Regions from separate parts of the Homo sapiens genome. Here all the other regions are linked to region 2. The links are contacts of gene promoters, found by promoter capture Hi-C in human tissues and cell types (Jung and others, 2019). All regions are on one chromosome and are shown on one strand. Each heading gives the region's core, a stretch centred on a gene start or on the middle of the fragment in contact. The rest is flanking DNA. Distances are from core to core; before and after follow the strand shown.

Evidence for each region. Contacts are between HindIII fragments. The study calls those that stand out against the background at their distance.
Region 1: a fragment that was not itself captured here is called in contact with the fragment with the promoter of LSS in region 2 in 2 of the 25 tissues and cell types used here (IMR-90 fibroblasts and lymphoblastoid cells).
Region 3: a fragment that was not itself captured here is called in contact with the fragment with the promoter of LSS in region 2 in 1 of the 25 tissues and cell types used here (lymphoblastoid cells).
Region 4: a fragment that was not itself captured here is called in contact with the fragment with the promoter of LSS in region 2 in 2 of the 25 tissues and cell types used here (dorsolateral prefrontal cortex and spleen).
Region 5: a contact is called between a fragment that was not itself captured here and the fragment with the promoter of LSS in region 2, in 1 of the 25 tissues and cell types used here (dorsolateral prefrontal cortex).

What each region holds. Positions count from the first base shown.
Region 1 is chr21:46,499,600-46,504,510 of GRCh38, reverse strand. It overlaps DIP2A (disco interacting protein 2 homolog A), which reads right to left. Exons shown (of 38, transcript NM_015151.4): 6 at 22-150. Among named protein-coding and RNA genes, the nearest start is that of DIP2A-IT1, 40 kb to the right of the region's middle. RefSeq lists an enhancer at 3,940-4,079. The HindIII fragment of the contact is 5,234 bases long and covers 221-4,911 here.
Region 2 is chr21:46,226,638-46,231,402 of GRCh38, reverse strand. LSS (lanosterol synthase) reads left to right here and starts at 2,629. Exons shown (of 22, transcript NM_002340.6): 1 at 2,629-2,671; 2 at 2,804-2,969; 3 at 3,713-3,851. The coding sequence starts at 2,658. It overlaps MCM3AP-AS1 (MCM3AP antisense RNA 1), which reads right to left and starts at 2,172. Exons shown (of 4, transcript NR_110565.1): 1 at 2,137-2,172; 2 at 876-1,076. RefSeq lists silencers at 1,825-2,264, 2,325-2,584, 2,595-2,764, 2,825-2,874 and enhancers at 2,294-2,588, 3,305-3,374. The HindIII fragment of the contact is 14,795 bases long and covers 1-4,765 here.
Region 3 is chr21:46,517,467-46,522,080 of GRCh38, reverse strand. All of the region lies in intron 8 of DIP2A (disco interacting protein 2 homolog A), which reads right to left. Among named protein-coding and RNA genes, the nearest start is that of DIP2A-IT1, 57 kb to the right of the region's middle. The HindIII fragment of the contact is 7,528 bases long and covers 1-4,614 here.
Region 4 is chr21:46,591,562-46,596,406 of GRCh38, reverse strand. No RefSeq gene overlaps it. Among named protein-coding and RNA genes, the nearest start is that of S100B, 11 kb to the left of the region's middle. The HindIII fragment of the contact is 3,264 bases long and covers 1,693-4,845 here.
Region 5 is chr21:46,571,674-46,576,564 of GRCh38, reverse strand. It overlaps a transcript of DIP2A not described here. Among named protein-coding and RNA genes, the nearest start is that of S100B, 31 kb to the left of the region's middle. The HindIII fragment of the contact is 3,898 bases long and covers 1-3,778 here.

The sequences.
Region 1 (4,911 bases), core at 1,588-4,087, 270 kb before region 2:
GAGAAAGAGAGGCAGGCTCACCATCTGCTGTTTCCAGCATGCTCCCGCTGCACCCCCGAGGAACACTTCTCACAGAAGCCACCTGTGGACGCTCAAAGTACGAATGCTCCACGAGGCCCGTGGTGACATCAGGAGGGGCAGAATGCAGATCTGCTTTTGAAAAACACACCCAAAATGAAAGTGGCTGTTAAGTCAAATGAGTATTAAGCTGCTCTTGAAACCCCGTTAGTCTAAAGCTCCACTAGCTGAGTTCTAAGTGGGGAGAGTGTGGTATTTTCATTAATTTGTTTTCTTGGCTGACCAAAGGCATACTGGGACCCTATGAACTCCCAGACACGTTATGCAGACATCTGCGTGCATGTGGGTGGCTCAATTCTCAAAGGGATCCAGACTCAGAACCACCATCTTCAGCACAGAGGCAGGCACAGAGTAAACCTGCCTGTCACAATGGCCTGATGAGATTTTGGTTAGAAATTCCCTCAAGGGGCTGGGCATGGTGGCTGACACCTGTAATCCCTGCACTTGGGGAGGCTGACATAGGCAGATCACCTGAGGTCAGGGGTTCGAGACCAGCCTGGCCAACATGGCGAAACCCCGTCTCTACTAAAAATACAAAAATCAGCCGGGCGTCGTGGCACATGCCTGTAATCCCAGCTACTGGGGAGGCTGAGGCAGGAGAATCACTTGAACCCAGGAGGCGGAGGTTGCAGTGAGCTGAGATTGCACCACTGCACTCTAACTTGGGCAACAGAGCGACACTCTCTCTCAAAAAGAAAAAAGAAAGAAAGAAGGAAGGAAGGAAGGAAAGAGAAAGAAGAAAGAAAGAAAAGAAAGAAAGAAAGAAAAAGAAAGAAAGAAAAAGAAAGAAAGAAAGGAAAGAAAGAAAGAAAGAAAGAAAGGAAGGAAGGAAGGAAGGAAGGAAGGAAGGAAGGAAGGAAGAAATTCCCTCAAGGAAGCAGAAACAAATTTGAAATCAATTGTCACTGGTACATTTTTTTGTTACATTATGAAAAAAACAGCCAGGATCATACAAACTACTACAACCCCCAAAAAAGTATGTTGGACACCAAACCTTTGCAGTCCTAAAAGAATAAAACTACAGAAATTAAAACTTCCCCCACTGCCAGTTAAAACAGCTGCAAAACTAAGAGACCACAATCAAGTTCCTTTTTTTTTTTTTTTTTTGAGATGGAGTCTCACTTTATCACTGCCCAGACTGGAGTGCAGTGGCACAATCTTGGCTCACTGCAACCTCTGCCTCCTGAGTTCAAGCAATTCTCCTGTCTCAGTCCCCCAAGTAGCTGGGATTACAGGCATGTGCCACCACACCCAGCCAATTTTTGTATTTTTAGTAGAGACGGGTTTTCACCATATTGGCCAAGCTGGTCTTGAACTCCTGGACTCAAGTGATCCAACCACCTCGGCCTCCTGAAGTGCTGGGATTACAGGTGTGATCCACCGCGCCTGGCCACAATCAAGTTCTTAAAGTAGAATTGGTGTAACATTTAAAAACAGACATTAGATCTGGAACATATGTAAAAGTCACTCCTTCCATTGTCTGAATGTACATTTTTGTGTTTTATTTCCATGGTACAGTCCATCTATCTGTTCAGAATGCTGGCTGACTGTAAGTTCCTATAGGAATTATGGTTATAATTGGGTCTACCACTAGGAAAGGCACTGTGTCTATATGACTATAGAAATTGTGTTCTACCACAACAATGAATACACAGATGCTCGCCCATTTATAAGAATCAACATAGGGGCCAACATGGTAGCTCACACCTGTAATCCCAGCAATTTGGAAGGTCAAGGCGGGCAGATCAGCTGAGGTCAGGAGTTCGAGAATGGCCTGGCCAACACGGTGAAACCCTGTCTCTACTAAAAATACAAAAATTATCCAGGCGTGGTGGTGCATGCCTGTAATCCCAGCTACTCGGGAGGCTGAGGCAGGAGAATCGCTTGAACCCGGGAGGTGGAGGTTGCAGTGAGCCAAGATTGCACCACTGCACTCCAGCCTGGGGGACAGAGTGAGACCCTGTCACAAAAAAAAAAAAAAAAAAAAAAAAAAAATCAACACTAGCTGTGCAGTGGCTCACACTTATAATCCCAGCACTTTGGGAGGCTGAGGCAGGAGGATCACTTGAGCCCAGGAATTTGAGATCAGCCTGGGCAACATAGTGAGCTCCCATCTCTTAAAAAAAAAAATTAGCTGGGCATGGTGGTGGACACCTGTGGTCCCAGCTACTTAGGAGGCTGAGGTGAAAGGACCACTGGAGCCCAGAAGTTCCAGGTTACAGTGAGCTAGGACCATACCGCTGCACTCTAGCCCGGGCCACAGAGTGAGATCTTATCTCCAAAAAAATAAATAAATAAACACTAGTCTATGTTAGGTAGAGACAACTGGTAATGTTTAATATTTTAATGAAGGTACCTGTTAGTATCACTGTGGTACTCCTAGGTACAATGTAAAGCAGTAACTTTTTACTAGGTTTGTAGAAAGCTGAAGTATATGAAAGCACAAACTCACTGTCTGCATAGCAGAATATACCTTTTGAAAAAATCTAAACCGTTAAGATTTTTCACAACCCTTGAAAAAGCCTGATGCTGATCAAATTAGCATTTTAAAGTATGTCTATCAGGAGGTTCTTTTAGTTTAAAAAGAAATTTCCCCACTCTTCCAAATCTAGCAAAAAGAATAAATGATTTTAAAAGTATATATGGAAAAAAAGGTATACATGGTATACATACATGTACTACAAGTAGTTTTTTAAAACAGCTATATAATGGCTGGGAGCAGTGGCTCATTCCTATAATCCTAACATTTTGAAAGGCCAAGGCATGAGGATCACTTGAGCCCAGGAGTTCAAGCCCAGTCTGGGCAACACAGTAAAAACTCCATCTTTCCAAAAAATTTTTAAAAATTAGCTAGGCATGCTGGCATTTGCCTATAGTCCCAGCTGCTCAGGAGGCTAAGGTGGGAGAATTTCTTAAGCCCAGGAGTTCAAGGCTGCAGTGACCTATGATCATGCCACTGTACTCCAGCGTGGGTGACAGAGCAAGACCCTGTCTCTAGGTGGAAAAATAAAAAAAAAAGCTGCATAAAAATAAACATAAACTACATTCAAAATAAAAATAAGCTACTATAATTAAAAGAAGCTACTATAATTAAAAGTACTGCTTTTAAAAATAGGTATTTACATTTGTATAAAAAAGGCTTAATGTATTTGATTTCCTTAATCCAAAACTGAAAGTGATATATTTTTAAAAATTATCTTTACCTGATATGTTCTACCTCGAATTTTTTACTTAATATATTCTTCCTCTTTTCATGTTTCTTTCCTTAGTTTAAATTGAAGACACATCTAGTGTTAGAAACTAAAACAAAGGATGATTTCTGTCATAAGAGGGAAGTTGAGTATTTTTGAGATTTAGAAATTCAAATTAACTATGTCCAACATTTAGGATGTGGGTAGCTACAATCTGTAGAAAATTGCAATCCTGTAAGCAAAGTATTAAATCAAGTCCAAGTTAAGAATTTTTTTTAAATGTATTAGAATTGATCACAAAATGTTGATGCTAGGACTAACAAGAAAGGAAGAGATGATTACAGCTGCATCTGCAGGAGTCAGGAGCTGTCTTCCACCAACATAGGTAATAAACCTACATTATAAATAATTGCAGCCAAGTCCTTTTCAGAGAATGAAAACATCTAATTCAAACACACATTAGAGTTCAATGCTTTGCTTAAAGACACCCCACAATCACTGGAAAGTTGAGGGCTGTACGGTTAAACATTCTGAACTGTGGCTAATTTTTCATGCTGAATAAGCTTTTATTTCTAACCCACCCGGAAACAGTGTTGAGATGACTCAGCAATGGCTAATAAACTCAAACTACAAATGTTTTGTTTGCTCTCCTGCACCATCTCACCTAGAAAGGAGCTTCTGGGAGAAGAAATGAGGTAACAGAACATTTAAAACTACTGTTTTCCTGCCCCTGCCTCAGAATTGGAGTTAACTATGTATTTCTACAAAGTTAAATCACCAACGATGAACAGAGAAGGCAAACAACAGTGCAAAAGCTGTTTTCAAGATATGGACTGTACACCACCTTGAGGAAAGGTGGGCAGCAGCCTCTGGCCATGGAACACCCAGGAAAGCTACAGAAACAATCTGAGCAGGCTGTTTTCCTAAGAGAAACTTTCTCTGTGGAAAATGCTGCCTGCTGCTACCCTTGTAGTCTTGGCAGTTCCTTTATGAGCTGGAAGCAGTGTGGAGACAGAGCAGGGCACTGTGAGCTTTCATCTGAGACGGACGCCTCAGAAGAAGGACACATGTTCAATGGAAACACAAGAGATGTGCTGACTCAAACAAACAAAAACATGAAGAGCAACAGTGATGCACACTACAGAGGATGATGAGACAGAAGCTGTGGGCCACCCAACATACCCAACTTGCCCCCAGTCCAGCCAAATGACCGAGGTCTTACAAAAAAGAGCTCGGCACCCATGGGGACCCCAGCACAAACACCAGCGTGTCACAGGTGTCACCTTTCAGTTTTGGCAGAAAAGCAACAAAAAGCAAAGAAAATGAATAGGAATCAAGAAAACTGGTATCAGCCCTGGCTTCACCACTTAAGGCTGCTGTCTGATCTCAAGCAAGTTACAATCGCTGGACTTTTTTTTCTTCCTTCCTCATCTGGGAAAAAAAGGAGGGGATTAAGATGAGTCTTCAACAATACTGATTGTATTTTAAGGTACTTGTGCAAGAGTGTATGTGGGTTTCACATGCCAGCTACATACAGCTAACTATGCTGCTGTTTTAGTTAAAAAATAGAATTTCAAAGGATGAAAGGTTTACACTTTTTTCATCTCTAAGATGAATGTAATTTAAAGGATTCCATGATTTG
Region 2 (4,765 bases), core at 1,380-3,879:
TCATCTTGTCCAATCTCATGATTTCAAATACTACCTGAAAGCAAATGACTCCCAAATTCCTATCTCTAGCATTATGTTCTCTCCTGAATGCCAGCCTACTCAATATTTCACTTGAATGTCTAATAAGCATCTCTAGTATAACTTGTCCCCACTTTAATCTGAATTTTCCAATCAAACTTTCCCTATTTTAGGCCAGGTGTGGTGGCTCATGCCTATAATCCCAACACTTTGGGAGGCTGAAGTGGGAGGATTCCTTGTGGCCAGGAGTTTGAGACCATCCTGGGCAACATAGCGAGACCCCGTGTCTCTACCAAACTTTAAAAAAATCAGCCAGGTGTGGTGGCACACGCCTGTAGTCCCAGCTATTCAGGAGGCTGAGCCCGGAAGATCACTTAGCCCTGGAATTTGAGGCTGCAGTGAGCTAATGATTGTGCCACTGCATTCCCACCTGGGTGACAGACTGAGATCCTGTCACTAAATAAATAAAAGACACCTCTATTTTAGTAAATGACCACCACCATATACCCAGTTGTTGAGGCCAAAATCCTCAGAGCCTTCTGTATCTGGCTTAATGAATAAGCTGGATGCAGTAGTATGTAAGCAGATAGGAACAGTGTTTTTTCTCATGACTGCCCCTAGAAGCTTAACTGTGTCAATTCTCAGACGTAGTTTACAGCTTTTTCTTTTCTTTCAGACATTAAAAAGAGCGGATTATTTTACTCATAAAAAGTCCAGTCCATTAAGATATCAAAACTCAAACTCTTATCCAGTTGAAACCTCTTCCCTCACCTAGCTTTGCCAGGTTCAGTGTGAGATTCCATCCAGGCTGAAGCCCCTTATCCCTATTCTTCATGTTTCTACATGGAGGAACTTACCTGGAGAAAAACTTCCAGCCTCTTTCTGCTTCCAGAGAAGTAGAGTGACTCATTTGATTGAATTTCAGAGAACAGATAGGGTGGAGTGTGCTCAGGCTCCTCTGGGTACTCTTTCTGGGGTCTGTGGGTTGACTGGAGGGGTGTCTTCTGGTGGGCACTCAATTGCATAGTGCTTGGTGAGGCAGTTTCATGGCCTAGAGGCTGGGGGATATGTTTGTCTGACTTAACGGGTGATTTAGTAGCTTGCCCTCTTGCTTGCAGATTTAAGCCTTGTCCTTCAAGCTAGGTTTTTAATTTGTGGCAAAGCTGATATTTTGATACCCACCCATCTTATTGCTGTGTCTTTTTCATCCGTTTCTGAACTGGGATAGGAAGAGGTGATTATCCTTGATTGTCTAAAACCCCGCTATTCCACTGTGGGGAAGGTGCCTGTGGGTATTCTTTTGTCCACTCTCTCTTCCAACTTTCTCCTCCGGCTTGCTGTGGCTCACCGCCCCTTCGAAGTTAGGCTGGGGGTAGGAATTGAGGAGTGGGTGCCGAAATGCTCACTAGGCTGGGGCAGTTGTAACTGGATGTCAGGGCTTCTGTGGGCCAGGTGAAGACATGCTGGGGTCTTCTGTGGGTCCTTGACCTGACTTACGGACCACTGGCTGCAGCCTCCAGACGTCAGCCATGTTTCCAACAGTCAGACGCCCCCTGCCCTGTTGCGCCCGGCTGTCCCTTCCAAGTTCGGTCACTCGCTCTGCCTCCATCTTCCTCTTCCCTCTGCTGCTAAGGCTTTTCACCTTTAATTTCTCCTGGGGCCACCCCCAACTCCAGCGACCCCGTGAGCAGCTGAGGCTCTACCGCGCTCGGTCCTGGCCAGCGACGCAGCCCTTCCCTGGCGGGGCTCCAGGGCTTCTGGCCCCTGTGGTCCGCCAGGTGTGGGGGCCCACGGCCTCACCGCGCCTACCCCACTCCCCCCGGCGAAGCTACGCGGCGCTCAGCTTCCCAGGGACGCCGGCGGCGCCCTCGGCTCCTCCGCTCCGCCCCGCCCTCCCCCTGGTCTCGCACTGGAGCCGACGGCCCGCGCCCACCTCACCTCAGGGCGGCCTCCCGCCCCCACCCCCGGCCCCGGCGTCCGGGCAAATCCTGCAGCGCGAGAGCAATTCCCTGCCACCCGACCTTCGCACTCGCTGTCGCTCGCTCGAGCCTCGCTCCCCACGTCCTTCCTTCCGACCCGCGGCTGGACCCTCCTCACAAATTTCTCAGAGAGGCTCACCTCAAAGCGCGGCGCACGAGGCCGGGCTCCCGGGACGCAAGCCTCTAGAGGGCGCGCGAGAGGCCCCGCCCCCGCCCTTCGGCCCCACCCACCAGCCCCGCCCCCACCCGCACCCACCAGGCCCCGCCCCCACCTCCCCACCCACCAGCCCCGCCCCCACCTCCCCACCCACCAGCCCCGCCCCTCATGCCCCGCCAATAAGGCCCCACCCGCCTCCCCCGTCCCGTCGCCTTCACCCACCATCCCCGCTCCCTCAGGCCCCGCCCCACGCCGCATGGGGCACCAAGCGCTCCACCACTGTGGTCGCCTGGCACACCCCGGGGTCACGCTCGCGGCGCTCTGATTGGTTGCGTGGGCGTCGGCCCACCTAAGCCTGAGCGCCTGCCGAGGCCTGCGCCTGCGTAGTGCGCGCGGGAGGGGCGGGAGGGGCGGGAGGGGCGGGAGGGGCGGGGCTGGGCGGCAGGTCCCGGGTGCGGACATCTGGCAGCTGGCAGTGGGCGGCGTAGAGCACTGCAGCAGCAATGACGGAGGGCACGTGAGTCCCCTCGCCCCGGGCTCCTGACGAATGCGGGGTGGTCCTAGGTGCTGAGGAGAGCGCGACTGGGGCAGTGGGCCGGCGGCCGGCGTTGGGGCGGGGCCTGGGTCGCTGATGGCCGGTGGTCCTCAGGTGTCTGCGGCGCCGAGGGGGCCCCTACAAGACCGAGCCCGCCACCGACCTCGGCCGCTGGCGACTCAACTGCGAGAGGGGCCGGCAGACGTGGACCTACCTGCAGGACGAGCGCGCCGGCCGCGAGCAGACCGGCCTGGAAGCCTACGCCCTGGGGCTGGACACCGTAAGTTGCTTCCGCGGAGCGTCAGCGAGCTCGGGACCCTGAGGGGTGAGCCGTGAGGAGCACGTTTTCTCTCAGAAAGGCGGGTGGGAGGACCCGGCCAGCGACGCCCATCCCCAAGGCGAGCGCCCACGGGAACTGCGTTCGCGGGCCCCTCCGCTTCAGCCCCTTCATCTCTAAACCACGCATAGGAGACTCCTAATGTTTTATTTTTTAGCACCTTATTTTGAGATAATTTTTGACTTATAGGAGAGTTGCAAAGATAGTTGTAACTTTGTTTTTATTCACAAAAAGTGTTTGGATCCACTGTCTTAGTTGTGTGCATTGTAAGAGATTTTGGTCGTCAGAGTCTGCAGTGTAAACAGGGTCTCCTGCCGAGCCCCGGCCACCGAGGGAAAGGCTGTGCCGCCCCTTGGGCCCTCTTTGAGAGGCCCGAGTCCCAGGCCCAGGTCGGCACCCGTGCCCCACCCTACAGTCTGGGTGCCTGGTTTATTCCAGACATCTTGGAGAAGTTGTGAAGAATACATGACTGGCAAATAAAGCAACGAAAATGTGCAGCTGTTCTTTTACTTTGCTGAGGTGTGATGCTCTCATCAAAGAGTTTCAGACTTTTGATGGAAACAGCTGAAACTTTTAAAGTAATTTACATTCACTGTTTTGACTTGGGCTGTATGTGAAGAGGGTTCCTCTGGCCGGGCAACAGTCCCGTCAGCTATCTCTTTTTTTTTTTTTCGATCTCTTTGCAGAAGAATTACTTTAAGGACTTGCCCAAAGCCCACACCGCCTTTGAGGGGGCTCTGAACGGGATGACATTTTACGTGGGGCTGCAGGCTGAGGATGGGCACTGGACGGGTGATTATGGTGGCCCACTTTTCCTCCTGCCAGGTAGGAGTATGCTGCCCCAGCCTGATGGTATGGCCACCCTGGATCACCCTTGGGATCCTGGCCCAGCCTGGTCTAGGGTTTTGATGAAGCAGGTGAAAATCCAGGGGCTCACAAGAAAAGGGCTGGCAAACTCTGCCCTATGTCAGAGTCGTCCTGCTATTGGTCTAGGGGATCAGCTAGCCTTGCCAGTGTAGGGTGACAGGCTCTCTGATAAGAGAAGCAAGTGGTTCTCTAGGGCTCTGTGTTGCCTTGAGGGAGGAGGAAGGTGGGCTTTGAAGTCTCAGTACAGGATGGGATGGACATTCCAGGTGGAAGGCCCAGCCTATGCCAAGGGGCTGTAGGTGGGCAGAGTGGTGGGTGGGGAGCTGATATCTGCTGTGAACTTCCTCGGGGCTATTGCAGGAGAGCTTCAGGTTCAGGCTGGTGAGTAGGAGGAGCATAGCAGTTGGACTGCCTGGGTATTGAACTGATTTGGCTACACAAGACTATTTTGCATCCTGGGAGTGTTTCTCTACAGAAATCCTCAGCCTTGTAAAATGGGAAATTCCCTCCTATGAATTTATGCAATAGGACTTTTTTCCCTAGTGACTTGTAATCACATTGTTTCAATGACGTGAATTCCTACATAAATAGGTTTTGTTTCTGTGATAACTCTTACTGATACATCATTTTCTTTTACTACGCTGACTTTGTAATAGATAGAAAGTCCTTATATACCTTTGTTGCCTTTCTTTTTAAAACATCTCTTACCTGTGTCTATTCATTTACTCATCCAAATTGCCTTTATCCTGATTTTGTCCCAGACTTGAAATGAAGTTGCAATAGGCTTATATGTTAGTTTGGGAAGAGTTGGCCTTTAACGTTAAAAACAGTTCCATGGTGTTTACTGTAGGCCAAGCCCTGCTCAAGGCCTG
Region 3 (4,614 bases), core at 1,579-4,078, 290 kb before region 2:
AATTAGACAGGTCAGATATTAGGTTTGCTAAATGCTTTACGGTCATAAACTGCTTCTTCGGTTAACAATGTAACATGCACTTGAGACTATGGGACTATGGGAAAAGCAGTTCTACCTGCAAGTGTGAAATGTGCACGGAAAGTGAAATGTGTTTTTGGTAAAAAGATTGTAAGAAGTCATGGGAATGTGGATTTTTTTTTGCCTAGATTAAAGGGTTAAAGGATTATTTTCAGTTGGATAGAATAATGCTGAAGGTTTGAGCAAGTTGTGGAAGGTTTGTGAAAAATTAATCTTGTAAAAGAAATTGTGTGTGAACACACTGGCCTAAAGTTAAAGGGGTATTATTCAGTTTTTCCATAAATTGAATACTGGAATAAAAGCACAACAGTTTTCTTGGAGCATGAATCTGCTCTTTAACAAAAAGTGTAAAGGGTTATAAAAGGTTTATGAGAATCTTACCTTATGGTTGAATAGATTTGTCTACAAGGTTTTATTAAGAATTGGGTTTGACATCAATAATGCGCTAATGCAATGGTGAAATTTTGCTTTCTCCCTTGAGCAGGATTTTTATATTAAAAAAATAATGAAAGATGGCTGGGTGTAATGGCTCATGCCTGTAATCCCAGCAATTTGGGAGGCCAGGGCAGGCAGATCACTTGAGGTCAGGAGTTTGAGATAAGCCTGGCCAACATGGTGAAAACCGGTCTCTACTAAAAATACAAAAATTAGCCAGGCATGGTGGTGCACACCTGTAGTCCCAGCTACTCAGGAGGCTGGGGCAGAAGAATTGCTTGAACCCAGGAGGCGGAGGTTGCAGTGAGCCGAGATCACGCCACTGCACTTCAACCTGGGTGACAGAGTGAGACTCCGTCTCAGGAAAAAAAAAGAAAAGAAAACAAAGATTTTTGTTTGCCTTTTGAATAAACTATAGGAAAAAGAAGGGAAAGAAAGGAGACAGATTATTTGGAAAGCTAAGTCTTCCTTCTATTAATGAGTAAAGGATTTTGCCTTTTAAAAATTTTTGAGTTATCATTTTGGGTAAATGAATGACTTATGGTGACCTGGGATTCTATTTTGTAATATCAAGCGTTTAAACCTTTAATATTTGACAAACTTTCCAACATCATACTCTAAATTCTGCCTTTTCCTGACCTAATTAATCTTTTAGATATTAGGTCCTCTCAAGTCCAAAAAATGACATATTCAGCTTATTTGGTATAAAAATCACACAGCAAGCACTGTCAGATATGAAATGATGCGTGGCTTTCTTTGGGCTATATTTGTATAAATATGTTATTGGTTTGTGTTCCAAAATCGTGTGAAACTTCTATAACTCTGATATGACAGTACATGTTATTAATATAATTGGTATGTTAAATTGTTCCATGTCACAGAAGTAATCAAAATTCCTAGTCAATTGTGGCTTTTGTAGAGGCTGCCCTAAGGCATTCTGTCATCCATACAAAATTGTTGTCTTGTTTGGGTCCTCTTTAGAAGGTGGTTTTATAATCAACTAGAGAACTCTAACAGGTGTTTTTGAATGCAGGTTTCTGATAACTTTGGAGGTTGCGACATTAGAATAGAGGAAAAACTTTCAGGACTCTCATGGAGAGCCAAAATGTTCATGAATATCGAACAGGAGTTAACTGCATGAGCTGAACTAATAGGACTAACAGAACTAATAGAAGACAGAAGTAACTTGTTTTGACATGAGCTGAACTAATAGGACTAATAGAACCAGTAGAAAACAGAAGTAACTTGTTTTGACTTTTTGCTTAAATTGTTGCTGATTCTTTGTTTTGTTTTTCAGAGCCAAGAAAACTTCTCTTTTGAGCTATTTACAGCTTTTAACAATTGAGTAAAGTAGAGAGAAACAAGAGAGATGGGTAATGTAAAAATCTGGATCAGGCTGGGTGCGGTGGCTCATGCCTGTAATCCCAGCACTTGAGGAGGCCGAGATGGGTGTATCACAAGGTCAGGAGATCGAGACCGTCCTGGCTAACATGGTGAAACCCCGTCTCTACTAAAAATACAAAACATTAGCCGGGCGTGGTGGCGGGTGCCTGTAGTCCCAGCTACTTGGGAGGCTGAGGCAGGAGAATGGCGTGAACCCTGGAGGCGGAGCTTGCAGTGAGCCGAGATCGCACCACTGCACTCCAGCCTGAGCAGCAGAGCAAGACTCCATCTCAAAAAAAAAAAAAAAAAAAAAAAAAAAAAAAAAAAAATCTAGATCAATATTCTAATTCTGGGCACACTGGAATCAGCTAGCAATCCCATATCATCTTAGTTCCAACAGTTACCCAGTTCATGAAAATCCCTATTTAATTTACTTGGGATAATTTTACTTATTTTGTTTTACTGTTGTGGAATATATTGCTGTTGTACTCTGTGTAGGAATGCAGGATAAGCTTACTCAATGTTTTCTTAAACTGAACACTTATTAATCTTCCAGATACCAAATTTTCTTGGCGTTATGAATGGCCCTCACCATACTGATGCTTTCTGACTTAGCTCCTTTCTTTCTCAAATATAAAAGACCCTAATAGTTAGGCAGGAATGTCATCACTCCTGTTCAGCCTGAAGAAGTTATAGAAGATGAATCTTTGTCCCTCTACAACCTTTAGAATTAAGGCTTCTCTCATAAAACAGAGAGGGGAAATATGTCAGAGGCGTTTAAACCAGAGCAACTCCATCTTGAATAGGGGCTAGGTAAAATAAGGCTGAGATCTGCTGGGCTGCACCCCCAGAAGTTAGGCATTCTAAGTCACAGGATGAGATAGGAGGTCGGCACAAGATACAGGTCATAAAGACCTTACTGATAAAACAGCATGTGTGGTGAAGAAGCTGGCCAAGTCCCCGCAAATGAAGATGGCAATGTAAGTGACCTCTGGTTGAACTCACTGCTCATTATATACTACTTACAATGATTGGCATGCTAAAAGACACTCCCACCAGTGCCATGACAGTTTACAGCAGCCATGGCAACGTCAGGAAGTTATCCTAGATGGTCTAAAATGGGAGGAACCCTCAGTTCCAGAAACTGCCCACCCCTTTCCCAGAAAATTTATGAATAATCCACCCCTTGTTTAGCATATAGTCAAGAAATAACTCTAAGTATTCTTAGTCCAGCAGCCCAAGCTGCTGGTCTGCCTATGGAGTAGCCATTCTTTTATTCCTTTGCTTTCTTAATAAACTTGTTTTCATTTTATTTACATATACTTCTTGAGACAGGGTCTCGCTCTGTCACTTAGGCTGCAGTGCAGCGGTGCAATCTTGGCTCACTGTAACCTCCACCTCCTGGGTTCAAGCAATTCTCATGCCTCAGCCTCCCGAGTAGCTGGGACTATAGGCGCATGCCACCACACCCGGCTGATTTTTGTATTTTTAGTAGAGACAGGCTTTTGCCATGTTGGCCAGGCTGGTCTCAAACTCCTAGCCTCAAGTGATTCACCCATCTCAGCCTCCCAAAGTGCTGGGAGTATAGATGTAAGCCACCGTGCCCAGCCGTTCACTACAGAAAAAATGTGTAAAAGATTCAAGGGGTACTTAACAAAAGAGCAAGTTAAAATGACAGGAAAGATCTCAATCTATTTAGTTATCAGTAAAATGCACATTAAAACCACAATGAAATACCACCATATTCTCACGAGAGTAGCTAAAATTCATAAGCCTGACAATACCAAGTGCTGATAATGATGGGGAGCAGGTAGGGCCCACCCACACTGATGGGCCAAGGGTGAACTGGAGAACGGTGATGCCATCTCAGCAATGTGAAGGTGCCCATAACCCTAGACCTAGTACTTCCACTCCTAAGTACTCAACCTTCAGAAACATATGCTTAGCTACCACGTGGCACACACCAGAATCTTCCTGGGAGCACTGTTTCTAGTAGCTAAAACTGGATACAGCCCATGTATTCCAGCAACAGCATAATGCTTAAGTAAATTCTGATATATTCATTCCTCAACAGAAATAAATGAATTACAACTACCCGCAATAACATGGATGAATTTTAAAAGCACAATGGTGGAAGACTCTGCTTCCGAGTAGGAGAGGGTACTGGTGGCAGACCAGCACTCCTGCCTAAGATGAGTTTAAAAACTGAATAAAATGCAGAAATGATCTTTTGGAGGCAGCAAGTTGCTGCTCAGCAAAGACAACTAGAGGAGTTAAGATTCCAGAGAGGGAAAACCCTCCGGAAAGTGAGCTGAGCTGCAGCTGTCTTTACGCTGTCCATGTTCAGGGATTCCAGCCCCCACGGGGGGCTGAGTATCCACCTGGAGCAGTCCCACCAGGACATGAAGAAACCTGCAGAGCTTTTGGTAGAGGCTAGGAGTCTCGAGAGCACAGCCACCTCCTGCAGGACATGTGCTGAATCCTCTGGCTGTGTGCAGCAGGAGACCAAGAGCCCATGTGGAAAACCTCTGAAAAGCAGAATGGGGTTGTTAAGAAGCCACGAGGAGACCAACGCCACGGCTGGGAAGCCATCAGAGGAAAGAGACACATGGACACACCAGGCACTGGCAGAAAGCCCAGGAGAGCCAGAGGAGAGCAAAGGCCGGCTGGGCCAGGCATGACTGGACTGCAGCGACCAGCCAGCCACTACTCTACTTG
Region 4 (4,845 bases), core at 2,075-4,574, 360 kb before region 2:
TGTTCAGCCAGACCCTGCTCCTCTTGCAACCAACAAGGGAATCAAATTTCCCCCAGGCTGGCTGGGGCCCTACTTGGGTATCTCCACTATGGGCAGTTTGTCTCCACAGCATGACACCCTGTGAGCCCATGGGCCCATTACTGTTCCCTGCAGCTCTGCCCTGTGAGGCCCCATCCTGGTCTCCAAGGCAAAATGGGGGCCCTTGAACCCACATGCCCCCAGCCAAGACCCTGGAGAGAGTTTGGAAACTTCGTAGGAAGTTGTGGGAGACACCTTGGTTTGTTTGCTTTTGTTTTGGGGTTCTTAAATTTAGGGATTCCACCCTTATCTTGTGCAGACACAAATCAGATTTTTGTAATTGCAGATAGATGGAAGTGTTTGGGCATCAGAGGAAGGTTCCACTGGCCCTTCATCCAGTGGGACCTTCTACACACAGCTATTACGTTCTGCTCGCAATGGAGACACCCAAGTAGGTTCCACTAGCCCTGTCCCACAAGAGCCCAGCTATTGCCTGGCAGTATTTCTTTACCAAGAACTGGGCTGCCTTGGGGACCAGGTGGGTGAGCACAAGGGATGCCTGGCCTCTCTGTCCTGAGACCCCCCTTAATTATGACCCTTACAGCCATGTCCACCAGCAACCTGGCAGGCAAGACAATGGCACAACCTCCTTTCACTGCATTTAGGGAGAAAAGGGCTGGCCTCTCTCTGAAGGAGTGCAGAAAATACACATTATTCAAGCAAGTTAGCATGAGGCAAGCCTAGAGCTTTTACACAGGGCTGGATGTTGAGCAGAGAGCTGAGGATGAGGTTGGCATTCTTCTCAGGAAAATAGCCCAAAGCCCCCAGGATCTAAACCTTGCAGGAAGGAGGCCAGACTTGGCTGGGCTAGAAGGAGCTTTTCTTATGTCTTCTTACCCCAGCACCCCTAATTTAAAATACAGATCCCTGAGGTGCGTCTCAGGTGTTCAGGAGGCCACTCCTGAACTTTTCCTCTTCTGTGAGGGGGTGGGGGACACTGCAGAGGGCATATTGGGTCCCATGGCCCCCTACAGCTCACTGCACAAAACTCTGCTGGGATCTTGCTACATATCCCAAGTACCAGGCCCCCCAGGTCTGAAGTGGGACCATGACTCCCTGGGGTTTTTAGCTGTGAGACTGATCAAACAAGAATTCAGGTGATTTTTTTCCTCAGGGAAGTTAATAACACCAGATCAGCAAGACAGCACTGTCTGCCTAGATTATACCTCTAGAGGAATTGTGACCATCCTCTGGGTGTACCAGCCCCCTCACTCAAGAGTTGACTGTGCAAGGCAGAGAGTGGAAAAGGCCTCAGCTTCTCTAATACCCAAGGATTCCTGAGCAGGGACATCACTGCCTTTGCCCAGGCTTACAGTAGCCAGGCCCCTCTGGACTGCAGTCTCCTCATTCAAGAAAGTAGGAGTGTTGGGTGGTGTGCAGATAGTGCACTAAAGTGCACCCCACCCTTTCCTACTGGTCTTCACATCTTGTGAAATCCCCAGCCCCTGGGTGTTCCTGATCTCAGTTGTGAGGAAGGATCCATTAAGTATCCATTGAGTATGTTAACTGTGGGTTTTTGTAGTTGCCCTTTATCAGGTAAATTTCCCTTATATTCTTAGGGTTTTGGATTTTTTTCAAAAGCTTTTTCTGTGTTTACCGAGGTTGATGCAGGATTTTTGTTGTTGTTGCTGCTTTGCCAGCTGGAAGCTTCTTTAGCCAGCAGGACCTCTGTTCAGTTATTCCCATCACCCCACTCTGGCCCATGGCTCCCAGGCTGGCCTGGCCCCACCAACACTCCCATTGCATGGGCCAGCTGGCATCAGGGGAGTAAAGGAGGGCTACAGTGTTACAGCTCCTTTTTGCACCTGCTGTTCAGCGGGTCCCAGGTTCTTGTCCCGCGTCCAAGAAGAATGAGGTTATGCAGACAACCAAAGAGTGAGCAGGGCGGAGAATTTTATCGAGTGACAAAACAGCTCTCAGCAGAGAGGGGGACACGAGTTGGGTGCACTACCCTTACCCAAAATCAGGTAGTCCTCCCTGTGCCTGAAGGTGGGCAGTCCCTGCAAGTGTGGCTGAGTCCGGGGCCTTTTTTTTTTTTTGGATGGAGTCTCGCTCTGTCGCCCAGGCTGGAGTGCAGTGGTGCGATCTCAGCTCACTGCAAGCTCCGCCTCGCGGGTTCATGTTATTCTCCTGCCTCAGCCTCCCCAGCAGCTGGGACTACAGGCGCATGCTGCCACGCCTGGCTAATTTTTGTATTTTTAGTAGAGACGGGGTTTCACCGTGTTAGCCAGGATGGTCTCAATCTCCTGACCTTGTGATCTGCCCACCTCGGCCTCCCAAAGTGCTGGGATTACAGGCATGAGCCACCGCACCTGGCCAAGTCTGGGGCTTTTATGGGCTCAGAATGGGGGAGTGTGTGGTGATTGGTTTGTGAGTATGCAAAAAAGGCTAAAACAAAGGCACCACTCAAAGATGGAAACAACAATGTAAAAATGTAAAAAAAAACAATTAGGGAAGGGTAGGTATATGTAAAATAGGTGAAGGGTGGGGGTCAATCAGAGGAAAGCACATCAAATGGGAAGAGAGGTTCTCAATCCGGTCCATGGATTTATCTGAGATTTGGAGCTTGGCATTCAGGTTTTTTTTTCCTTTTCTGTAGCAATTTTTAAATTTTATTTTATTTGCATAGGTTATTGGGAAACAGGTGGTGTTTGGTTACACTAATAAGTTCTTTGGTGGTGATTTGCGAGATTTTGGTGTACCCATCACCCGAGCAATATACACTGCACCCTATTTATAGTATTTTATCCCTCACTCCCTTCCCACCCTTTCCCCAAGTCCTTGTATTAGTCCATTTTCACACTTCTGATAAAGACATACCTGAGACTGGGCAACATACAAAGGAAAGAGGTTTAATGGAGAATTCACAGTTCCACGTGGCTGGGGAAGCCTCACAATCATGGCAGAAGGCAAGAAGGAGCAAGTCACATCTTATGTGGATGGCAGCAGGCAACGACAGAGTGAGAGCTTGTGCAGGAAAACTCTCCCTTATACTAACCATCAGATTTTGTGAGACTTACTATTATGAGAACAACACAGGAAAGACCTGCCCCCATGATGCAGTTACTGCCCACCAAGTCCCTCCCACAACACATGGGAATACAAGATGAGATTTGGGTGGGGACACAGGCAGACCATATCATTCCACCCCTGGCCCCTCCCAAATCTCATGTCCTCACATTTCAAAACCAATCATGCCTTCCCAACAGTCCCCCAAAGTCTTACTTCAGCATTAACTCAAAAGCCCACAGTCCAAAGTCTCATCTGAGACAAGGCAAGTCCCTTCTGCCTATAAGCCTGCAAAATCAAAAGCAAGTTAGTTACTTCGTAGATAGAGTAGGGCTACAGGCATTGGATAAATACAGCCATTCTAAATAGGAGACATTGGCCAAAATGCTGGGGCTACAGACCCCATGCAAATCTGAAATCCAGTGGGGCAGTCAAATCTTAAAGCTCCAAAATGATCTCCTTTGACTCCATGTCTCACATCCAGATCACACTGAGGCAAGAGGTGGATTCCCATGGTCTTGGGCAGCTCAGCCCCTGTGGCTTTGCAGGGTACAGCCTCCCTCCTGGCTGCTTTCATGGGATGGCATTGAGTGTCGGCAGCTTTTCCAGGCCCACAGTGCAAGCTGTCTGTGGATCTACCATTCTGGAGTCTGGAGGATTGTGACCCTCTTCTCACTGCTCCACTAGGCAGTGCCCCAGGAGGAACTCTGTGTGGGGGCTCCAACCCCACATTTCCCTTCTGCACTGCCCCAGCAGAGATTCTCCGTGAGGGCCCCACCCCTGCAGCAGACTTTTGCTTGGGCATCCAGGCATTTCCATACATCTTCTGGAATCTAGGTGGAGGTTTCCAAACTTTAATTCTTGACTTCTGTGCACCTACAGGCTCAACACCACGTGGAAGCTGCCAAGGCTTGGGGCCGCCACCCTTGGGTAACAGCCCAAGCTGCACCTTGGCTCCTTCCAGTCACAGCTGGAGTGGCTGGGATGCAGAGAACCAAGCCCCTAGACTGCACACAACACAGGGACCCTGGGCCTGGCCCATGAAACTGTTTTCTCCCAGGCTTCCAGGACTGTGATAGGAGGGGCTGCTGTGAAGACCTCTAACATGCCCTGGAGACATTTTCCCCACTGTCTAGAGGATTAATATTCAGCTCCTTGTTATTTATGCAAATTTATGCAGCCGGCTTCAATTTCTCCTCAGAAAGTGGGTTTTTCTTTTCTACCACATTGTCAGGCTGCAAATTTTTTGAACTTTTATGCTCTGTTTCCCTTATCAAACTGAGTGCCGTTAACAGCACCCAAGTCACATCTTGAATGCTTTGCTGCTTAGAAATTTCTTCTGCAAGATACCCTGAATCATCTCTCTCAAGCTCCAAGTTCCAGATATCTCTACAACAGGGGAAAAATGCCACCAGTCTCTTTGCTAAAACGTAAGAGTCACCTTTGTTCCAGTTCCCAACAAGTTCCTCATCTCCATCTGAGACCACCTCAGCCTGGACCTTATTGTTCATATCGCTATCAGGCTTTTGGTCAAAGCCATTCAACAAATCTCCAGGAAGTTCCAAACTTTCCCACAATTTTCTGTCTCTTCTGAGCCCTCCAAACTGTTCCAACCTCAGCCTGTTACTCAGTTCCAAAGTTGCTTCCACATTTTTGGGTATCTTTTAAGTTGCACCCCACTCTACTGAATACCAATCTACTGTATTAGTCAATTTTTACATTGCTGATAAAGACATACCCAAGACTGGGCAAAGGAAA
Region 5 (4,891 bases), core at 580-3,079, 350 kb before region 2:
CACAATAGCAAAGGCATGGAATCAACCCAAATGGCTGTCAATGGTAGGCTAGATAAAGAAAATGTGGTACATTTACACCATGGAATACTATTCAATCATAAAAAGGAATTAGATTGTGTTCTCTGCAGGGAGATGGATGGAGCTGGAAGCCATTATCCCCAGCAAACTAACGCAGGAACAGAAAACCAAACACCACATGTTCTCACTTATAAGTGGGAGCTGAACATTATGAACACATAGACACACAGAGGGGAACAACACACACTGGGGCCTGTTGGGGGGACACTGGGGGAGGGAGAGCATCAGGAAAAATAGCTAATGCATGCTGGACTTAGGTGATTGGTTGATAGGTGCAGCAAATCACCATGGCACATGTTTGCCTATGAAACAAATCTGCACATCCTGCACATGTACCCTAGAACTTAAAAATTTTTAAAAATTGCCATCGGGGGTCACTTGCTTTCAGTCTGATGGACTTTCTTTAGTATTTATGGTGATGTCAGCCAACAACAAAATTTGCTTATCTAAGAATGTCCTTATTTTGCTTTCATTTTTCAAAGGTGTATACCTTTTGTATATCTTATTTGGAGAACTGTCTTACAGCTTTTTCTTTTTCAAAATTGCTTTGTTTATTCAGAGTGTCTTTAGATTCTATATCAATTTTAGAATGAGTTAGTCTTTCTGCAAAAACCATAATTAGAATTTGGATAGGGACTGCCTTGAATCTGTAGATGGCTTTGAGTAGTACTGACATCTTAACAATATTAAGACTTCCAATCCATGAACATAAGATGTCTTTCCACTTATTTCTTTGTATTGTTCGATGTTTTCCATTCAATGTTTTGTACTTTTCATTTTATAAGTCTTTCATCTCCTTGGTTAATTCCTAAATATTTTTTGATGCTATTGTCAATGGAATTGTTTTCCTGATTTCCTTTTCGAATTGTTCATTGTGAGTGTATGAAAATGCAACTATTTTTGTGTGTTGACCTTGTATCCTGCTATGTTGCTAAATTTATTAGTGCTACTTTTTTTTGTGGAATCTTTAGGCCTTTCTACATATGAGATTATATCATTGGCAGAGATAATTTGAATTGTTTCTTTCCAATTTAGAATCCTTTTTTTCTTGCCTAATTGCTCTAAGAGCTTCCAGTTCTGTGTTGAGTGGAAGTGACAAACGCAGTCATCCTTGCTGTGTTTCTGATCTTATCAGAAAAAGCTTCTGCAGATTTTCACTACTGAGTATGATGTTTGTTGTGGATTTTCATATATGGACTTCATTATGTTGAAGTAGTTTCCTTTTATTCCTAGTTGTTTTTTTCTTTAATCATTATAGGGTACTGAATTTTGCCAAATGCCTTTGCTGCATCAATCGAGACGATCACATGTGGTTTTTCCCCTTCATTCCATTAATATGGTTTATTACATTGATTGTTTTATATATTGAATCATCCTTACATTCCAGGAGTAAACCCCACTTTGTAATGCTATATAGTGTTTTTAATATGCTGCTGAAGTCAGTTTGCTAGTATTTTATTGAGGATTTTTACATCAATGTTCAGAAGGAATCATGGTCTGTAGTTTTCTGTTTTTGTAGTGTCTGACTGGTTCCAGTATCAGGATAATGCTTGCCTCATAGAGTAAGTTTGAAAGTTTTCCCTCAACTTTCTGAAAAAGTTTAAAAAGGATTAGTGTTAGTTATTTAAATGTTTGGTAGAATTCACCAATGAAGCCATCAGGTTTTTGTCAATAGATCTTTTATTACTTAAATCAATCTCCTTACTAGTTATAAGTCTACTCAGATTTTCTATTTCTTCATGATTAGTCTTGATATGTTTTGTGTTTTTAGGAACTTGTCTATTCTAGGTTTTTCCATTTGTTGGCATACAATTGTGCATAGTATTTTTTAATGCTTTTTATTACTGTAGAATTGGTAACGTTTCCAATTTTATTTCTGATTTTAGTAATCTGTCTTCTTTTTTTCTTGGTCCATCTAGCTAAAATGTCAATTTTGTTGATCTTTTCAAAGAAACCATTTTTGGCTTTCTTGATTTTCTCTGTTTTTCTATTGTCTCTCATCTATTTCTGCACTAATCCTTACTTCTGCTAACTTTGGGTTTAGTTTGTTCTTCTTTTTTAGTTTCTTAAGTTGTAATGTTAGTTTGTTAATTTGAGGTCCTTCTTGGTTTTTAATGTAAGCATTTATAGCTATAAATTGCTTCTTTAGCACTGCTTTTGCTGGGTCCCATAAGTTTTGGTACATTGTTTTTATTTCCAAGTATTTTCTAATTTTTCTTGTTATTTCTTCTTTGATCCATTGGTTGTTTGAAAGTGTGTTAATTTTCACTAATTTCTGTATTTTCTCAGTTTTCCTTCTGCTATAGATTTTTAACTTTATCCCAGTTTGGTTTAAGGAGAGACTTTGTATATTTTTAAATCTATTGAGACTTAATTTGTGGCCTAACATGTTGTCTATCCTGGAAAATGTTCCATGTGAACTTGAGAAGAATGTGTATTCTATTTTTATTGTTGGGTAGAATGTTCTGCATATGTCTGTTAGATCTAGTTAGTTTGTTGTGCTGTTTAAAGCCTCCATTTCCTTACTTATGTCTTATTGTTCCATCCATTATTCAAAGCAGGGCACTGACATTTCCAACTATTATTATAGAACTGTCTATTTCTCCTTTCTCCCTTCTATTGTCAGTTTTCATTTCATATATTTTGATGATCTGTCATTGTATGTGTAAATGTTTACAATTGTTACATCTTGCTGAATTGAATCTTTTATTAATGTCCATCATTTCTTGTAATCATTTTTTATTTAAACTATATTATTATAGCTACCTCTGCTCCCTGTTGATTACTATTTGCATGGAATATCTTTTTTTTTTTTTTTTTTTTTTTTTTTTTTTTTTTTTTGTGAGAGAGGGTCTTACTCTGTCTCCCAGGCTGGAGTACAGTGTTGTGATCTTGGTGCACTGCAATCTCCACCCATCAGGCTCAAGGAATATTCCCACCTCAGCCTCCTGAGAAAGCCACAATGCCCAGCTAATTTTTGTATTTTTTTGGTAGAGATGTGGTCTCTTCATGTTGCCTAGGCTGGTCTCAAATTCCTGGGCTCAAGAAAACCACCTGCCTCAGCCTCCCAAAGCGCTGGGATTACAGACATGAGCCACTGTGCCCAGTGAATATATTTTTCCATCCTGTCACTCTCAATATATTAATACTGTGTCTTTGGATGTGAGTCTCTTGTAGACAGCATACAGTTAGATCCTGTTTTTTCCCCATTCTGCCAATCTCTGTCCATTTAATCTATTTACAGATAAAGTAATTATCAATAAGGAGAGACTTACTTCTGTCACTTCATATTCTATATGCCTTATATCTCTTTCATTTCTTGTATTGCGCCCTTCTGTGTTTTTTTTTAATGAAACATTTAAATCCCTTTCTCACTTCCTTTTGTGCATACAGCCATGCATTACTTAACAACAGAAATATGTTCTGAGAAATGTGTTTTTAGGTGATTTCATCATTGGGGGAACAACATACAGTGTATATGTATCTACACAAACCTAGCCTACAACACACCTAGGCTATATGATATAGCCTATTGCTCCTGGGTTACAAACCTGTCCACCATGTAACTGTACAAAATACTGTAGGCAATTGTAATGCACTGGTATTTGTATATCTAAACACATGTCCAAATTTAGAAAAGGTAGTAAAAATACAGTATAAAGGATTAAAATCAGTACACTTGTACAGGGCACTCAGTCCATTGTATGTTGCTTATAACAGAACACCTGAAATTGGCTACATTATAAGAAAAACATGAATTTATTTCTTAGAATTATAGCAGCTGAGAAGTCCAAGGTTGAGGGCCACATCAGGTCAGGGTCTTCTTGCTGGTAGGGACTCTCTGCAGACTCCCAAGGTAGTGCAGGGCATCATATGGTGGGGGCGCTGAGCATGCTAGCTCAGGTCTTCATCTTCTTACAAAGCCATCAGCCCCATTCCCATGATAATCCATTAATCTATCAATCCTTGAATAGATTAATCCAATCACCTCTTAAGGGCCCCACCTCTTAATACTGCCACATTGGGGGTCACTCAAATCATAGTAAGTACTTACCATTAATGGAGCTGGTAGAACTCAAAGTTATTTTGGGTGTAAGTGGTGAATGAATGTGAAGGCCTAGGACATTACTGTACACTACTATAGACTTTATAAACATTGTACACTTAGACTACACTAAACATAATTTTTCTTCAATAATAAATTAACCTTAGCTTACTGTAACTTTATAAACTTTCAAATGTTTTTAAGTTTTTGGCTATTTTGTAAAAACATTTAGCTTAAAACACATTGTACAACTGTGCAAAACATTTTTAGACATCTTTATAAACTTTTTTCTCTAAAAATTTTTTATTTTTTACATTATAAACTTTATTATTAAAAGCTAAAACCTGTCAATAAACTAGGTATTGGTGGACCATATCTCAAAATAATAAGAGCTATTTATGACAAACCCACAGCCAGTATCATACTGAATGGGCAAAAACTAGGAAGGATTCCCTTTGAAAACCGGCACAAGACAAGGATGCTCTTTCTCACCACTCCTACTCAACATAGTATTGGAAGTTCTGGTCAGGGCAAACAGGCAAGAGAAAGAAAGAAAGCATATTCAAATAGGAAAAGAGGAAGTCAAATTGTCTCTGTTTGCAGATGACATGATTGTATATTTAGAAAACCCCATCATCTCAGCCCAAAATCTCCTTACTCTGATAAGCAACTTCGGCAAAGTTTCAGGATACAAAATCAATGTGCAAAAATCACAAGCATTCTTATACACCAATAACAGACAAACAGAGAGCCAAATGATGAGTGAAC